Regions from separate parts of the Homo sapiens genome. Here region 2 is linked to region 1. Evidence: promoter capture Hi-C in 16 types of primary human blood cells and fetal thymus (Javierre and others, 2016). All regions are on one chromosome and are shown on one strand. The core of a region is centred on a gene start or on the middle of the fragment in contact, and the rest is flanking DNA. Distances in the headings are between cores, read along the strand shown.

Region 1 (2,772 bases), core at 136-2,635:
TCCCAGTCTCCCCCTCCCCCATCCTAGGAACTAACGTTAATCCCTTTTGATTCCCAAAGCCTTAAAGTGTCAGAACCAAACCACCTAGCCCCATTGTACAGATGAGAACACCAAGGCCCAGAGAGCACAGGCACTTGGCTAAAGTCACACAGATGACAGAATGGTGGAAGTCCAGTTCTCTTGCAGGTTGGCTTCCTGACACCCCAGTGCACTCCCTTCCTCTAGAGCTCCCCCCCAGAGCATCCCCTGAAGAGCTCCTCTGTTTCCCAAACCTGCCTGGGGAGGGGAGGTGGGGAGCTGGAGGTTTCCTGTCTGGGCTGAGAGTGAAAGGGCTGAAAGAAGGAACGAGGAAGGAGCAGCCAGCAGCCACAAAAGGCTTCAAAGGGCTTGGGCCTCCGCCAAACTGGCTGTGCACAGCCCAGTGGAGCCTGCGCCCACCCTGCGGCCAAGGCCATTCATTCTCTCTCTCCCTCACAGAAGCATTAGGAGACTAGGGCCTGGGAGGAAGCTTCCCTGCAACTCCAGGTCCTGCCACCCAAGGCGCGAGCTCTGGGAATGTGTCCCGCCTCCTGCTACAGCCCCAGCAGGCAGGAGGCAAAGCAGGCCAACCCCAACCTGCCTGCAGCCTGGAGCAGGATTATGAATCAGATGTGGCTCTCCAGGTTGGAAGGAATGTGGATCATAGATAGAGACACTAAGGCCCAAGGAAGGGCCAGAGAGTGGCAAAGACAGCGCAGGATCCACGTGGGTGATGATTTTTTTCCTGTAGGTCCCTCCTGACGGCAGAAGCCACCTACAGCTTGAAGTCTTCTTTGGCGAAGGGAAAAGACAGGAGAGAGAGAGGGAAAGGCAAGCTCCCAGGTTCCCTGTTGGCGCAGGTGGCATTTTGGGGGGAAACAGGGTTATGCACTGTGGGAGATTCGATTCGGAGCCAGGGGCTGAGCCTAAGGCTGGGATCTGTGTGGCTGAGATCTGTGCTCACTTCGAGGTTTCCGTGCTTGCCTGGACGGCTCTTGCGCCCTGGGATCTGTAAACCCCAAGGGTGGTGCGCCCTGGGGTCGCCATGCCCCTCAGATTCTTTACAGGGCACCTCCCATCCGGCACCTGGAGCTCCTGAGTGCGCGCGCCCCGGGAGAGCTGTGCTCCCCGCGAAATCCGTGCGCTCCAGCTCAGGGCTCCCGGGATCGGTGCCCGTTAGTGGGCACAGGACGCCGGGTGTCCGAAGGGCTGCCTGGAGATGCAACTGACCTTGGCGGGCATCAGAATGACGAGTGGCAGCAGCAGGAGCGGGGTGACGAACAAGATCACGAAGGACTTGAACTTGGAGACATAGCTCAGCGCCGAGGCCATCGCGCGGGAGGGAGACTGGCGGGCGAGACGAGTGAGGGGCAGCTAGAGGCGCCGCGGGCTTAAGAAGGGGCCACAGTCCCCGGGGATTGGGGAGGGGGCGGTGACAACTCCGCCCCGCACGGGGGCGCCTCCCCGCGGCCCTGGGGCGGGGCCACCCCTCGGGGTCTGTGGGACGCGCCTGCCCCCAATTCTGCCACCCGGCGGCGGTGGGAGGCGTCTTTGGACTCCAACGCTTCGGGCCAGCCCTCTAGGGGCAGCCTGGGCCCTAGCATCTCGCGCTGTCCAAGCCTCTCCTGCGCTGCCGAGGCAGAGGTGCGTCCCGGGGCTGCCAAGCGGGGCGTGTTTTGGTCACTGGTGCTGCCCGCTTTGGCGTAAGGCGCCCTCCCGCGTCCGCATCTGCTCTTTCCTGGGCTCTGAAGGGTCCCGGATGAAACTCTCTGCAGGCCTCTGGGTCTCTCAGGTCTATCTCCCCGATCTCCCTCTCCTTTCCATCTCCTTACTTCCGCCCCTCCGGTGTCTCTCCGAGAGGTGTCCCCCCACGCCCCGCGCCCTCCGCACCGCGGGCCTCGCTTCCCGGTCCCCCCTGGCTTCCTCGCCACGTCCGCCCCACTCTAGGTGCAGGACCCCTTTTCCCCGCTCGCACTCTCCGGCCCGGAGCTCCTGGGCGATCGCACAGGGAAGCGAGGCCACTGTCCTCCTCTGTCCCAGGGGCTGTCGCGCTCCAGTGGACGCTGCACCCCGCAGACGCCCGGCGGGCAGATGCGGACACGCGTCTTGGAGGGGCCCCACCGAGCCTCAGCAGCCGCAGCTGCCCGCCCGACCCAGGTCAGAGGGAAACGGAGCTCTAGAGAGGAAGGGACACAACTAAGGCGACACTGAGACAGTCGCCCATGTATTCATTCAGCCCGCCAGGCAACAGACAGGTGCCGAGCACCTCTTCTCCGCGAGGCCCTGTTTTGGGCACTGGAGACACACGGATGCAAAGACATCCCCACCTCTGTGATTTTCTTCTTTCCTCTCCTCTGCCTGCCTCTCATTCTGCAGCTTCCTTTTGGGGAGTCTCATCCATGCTGGTGGCCTAACCACAGCCGGCTCCTTAGTGATTACCATCCTCTGCCTTCAACCCAGCCATGATGCCAGAGTCCCAGATGTCCAGCCTTCCGCAGACTGGACGTGTCTCGGCCCGAAAATTCAACACATCCTGAATCAAGCTCATGAGTTCCTTCCTGTGACCTGCACCCAAGGACATGCATTCTCCCAAGCCCCTCCTGCAATTGCCTCCCTCCTGTCCTTTTCCCTTTGTAACTCTCATGCATATAGCCCTGGGTTTTCCCGCCTTTCCTGTGTCCCCAGGGCACTTAGCACAATTTGTACCTCTTATATTTATTGGTGTAATTTTTACTTTTTACTTTTTTATTTTTT
Region 2 (2,980 bases), core at 153-2,652, 180 kb after region 1:
AATGAGACACTGGTCAAGAGTGCCAAGCCTGAAATAATCATAATGTATTGTGCCTTAGAAGAAGATGCAGGCCATTTTCAACTCATTTTACTTCTCTGCAGCCCTTAAAGGGTAAACAAGAGCATGTCAGGGATTCCTGTGGCTCCATATGAAGGGTCGTGGAGACTAGCAGAAGGGCAGAAACCATCAGACTGCAGTTTCTCCAGGCTAAACAATGGAACATCCAACCTGAAAATGACGTTGGGATAGTGTCCCGATGAAATACGGATTTCATTCTAGAAGGAGTTCTTTTGGTAGCAAAGATAGGCATGAAGCTGAACATTGCTCCAAGAAAACCAAACATTGCTTATAAGAACCATATAATGTTCACACAGGTAGCCAGTAGCAGATGGCAGAGATACATTTGACTACTTACTAAGTGGTTTCTTCATTCTCTCTTTGCTTCCTTCATAGGAGATGTATGAGAATATGAGACTCAAAGAGAGAGAAAAAAGGGAAAGTTCATTTTTAAAAAAAAAGATAAAAAGATAAGCCCTCTCCTTTACTGTAAGCCTCTAGGTTCAAAAACAGGTTTAGCTTGAGTTAGGACAGGTGGAGAGGAACATAGTTTAGGAAAGGAGGCTGGAGGCAAGGAGATGAGTCTAGAATGGACTTTGATATGGAAGCTATAAAAGAAGCAATCTTGAATATTGAAACAAGAGTATACTATTAAACAAGAATGATTGGAAAATTGTGGAGTTGGCCACGAAACTGTTAAGCAAACCGCTACTCAGGAGAAAGGAAGAGTTATTAGAAAAGGAACACAAGTTCATGTTTATACTTCAACTCTTGAGACTCACTGCAATTCCCTTCTGACAGGAATTTTTTTTTGTCTTATATATGGTAGAGTTAATTGTTCTAGAAGCCTACTTCAAGCTAACTTAAGCAACAAAGTGGGATTTATTGGAAAGCCGCTTGGGTGTCTCACAGAACCCAAGGAAGAGAATTGAGCTGGATTTCACAGGACCTGGAAAACCCTCAGAAACTCAATTGTTCTCTCTCTTTCTTCTCTCTCCAGTCAGAACCTTCAGGAAGGGGAGAGTGGCTCATGGGCTGAGTGGATAAACCACAAAATGGGTAATATACTATAGGTGAGTTTTAAGTGACAAATGAAGTCTAAGCTGTTATTGCACTGGTCGGTGACTGAAACTGAAAATGGGAATTAGAGGTTAAGTGGAGGGAATATGTTGCCAAAATGTTAGAAGGATCTTCTTCAAAGAGAAGTTGAGGCTCTAGAGGATAATGGTAGGGCACAGAGTGGAGGTGAAGCTTGTGAGGGGTGGGGGTCAATGGGGAGGATAGGAGAGCATTCCTGATTTTGAGGAGGAAGGATAGAGGGTTTTACTGGTGAATGACGTGAGTAAGTGTCATGACCGCTCGTATTCTCAGGATTCTTCAGTATTGGGAGATGTGACTGCAGTGGACAGGGCAGTGTCAGAGAGACTAGATTTTATAATAGAAGCTTTTAAATTACCTACCCATCACCAACTTATCAGGAGACTGACACTGTCCATCTCCTCCAAAAAAAAAAACTGACCTGCCCGGCACTTTGATGTCCACCAGTTGAGCTTTATGTTTATCAAGAATAGTTGTGTAAACTTCCAAAACTGTTTATGGCAGGCACAGTGGCTCACGCCTGTAATCCCAGCACTTTGGGAGGGTGATGTGGGTAGATGACTTGAGGTCAGGAGTTTGAGACCAGCCTGGCCAACGTGGTGAAACCCCATCTCTACTAAAAATACAAAAAAGAAATTAGCCAGGCGTGGTAGCGGGCGCCTGTAATCCCAGCTACTCAGGAGGCTGAGGCATGAGAATCGCTTGAACCCAGGAGGCGGAGGTGGCAGTGAGCCGAGATCATGCCACTGCACTCCAGCCTGGGTAACAGAGCAAGACTGTCTCAAAAGAAAAAAAAACTGTTTATATCAGTTATATTTGTTATTGTAATGATGAAATTTATAGACAAACTAATGAAATAGGAGTATAAACATACCAGTATTTTTTAAAAATAAGTTGAATATTTTATGACTACATAAACAATAATCTTTTAAAAGTCACTGTCAATTTGATGACTAGGAGTCAGCCATACAACTATAAAAGGTTTTGAGAAAACTGTAAAGATCTAAATAGAGGCTGCATTTAGTTTTTTTCCCCACAAGAACCTTTAGGTTCTAGACATTTATTTCAAATAAATGTCAACTCATCTGGATGTAGCTTATGCAAGAAAGACCTAGAAGAGCTCTTATTATGGACCCCCATTCAATGAAAACACAATGGCCCTTTATTTCTCTTTCAACATGAGGAGGTGGAAGGGCTGTTCAAGCCCTTCTGTTCACGATAGCCCAGGAGGTCCAGGAGAGAGGCGAGCCGTGGGTGAGCAGGAGTGTCTGGGGAGTGTCAACTTTCCATTGAAAAATACCCCTATGATCAAGCCATTTCACTTCCGTGGCAATCTTATTTATGTATTCACCAAAATTGGGTGGGAGCTAGTGTTTAGCTGTCATCGTCCGTAGGCTGCTGTGTTTGGCTCATGGCAGGGTGTGAAACTGGCATCAGGGAGTGTTTGCCAAGTGAATAAGGGTGAGGCTGCCCTTTCCAGAGCCGCCGGGAGAAACTCTGGATACAGAGACCCTAGCCTGGCGCCAGTCCCAGCGTTCCTCCTAGTCGGGGAGGAATCTGTGGGTGGGAGGTGGGGAGCCTGAAACCCAAATACAACAGCCACTCTGGGCTGGGCGTGGTTCCCTGGGAGCTGGGTCTCAGATCCTTTTAAAGCTGATTTCTCCCCGGATCTCCGGGCAAGATGGGCAAGTACACGGTCCGCGTAGCCACCGGGGATTTGCTCCTGGCGGGCTCTCCCAACCTGGTGCAGCTATGGCTGGTGGGCGAGCACGGGGAGGCAGACCTAGGGAAGCAGCTGCCACCGGTGTGGGGAAAGGTGAGCGCG

What was found. The method cuts DNA at HindIII sites, captures the fragments that hold promoters and counts their contacts. A CHiCAGO score of 5 or more calls a contact.
Region 2: a contact is called between a fragment that was not itself captured here and the fragment with the promoter of SLC13A5 in region 1, in 1 of 17 cell types (endothelial precursors). The highest score is 7.0, in endothelial precursors.

Annotation. Positions count from the first base shown.
Region 1 is chr17:6,711,984-6,714,755 of GRCh38, forward strand. SLC13A5 (solute carrier family 13 member 5) reads right to left here and starts at 1,386. Exons shown (of 12, transcript NM_177550.5): 1 at 1,249-1,386. The coding sequence starts at 1,350. The HindIII fragment of the contact is 6,998 bases long and covers 507-2,772 here.
Region 2 is chr17:6,890,946-6,893,925 of GRCh38, forward strand. It overlaps LOC124903908 (a long non-coding RNA gene), which reads right to left. Exons shown (of 2, transcript XR_007065597.1): 2 at 2,295-2,980. It also overlaps the pseudogene ALOX12P2. Among named protein-coding and RNA genes, the nearest start is that of TEKT1, 61 kb to the left of the region's middle. RefSeq lists an enhancer at 2,735-2,980. The HindIII fragment of the contact is 193 bases long and covers 1,307-1,499 here.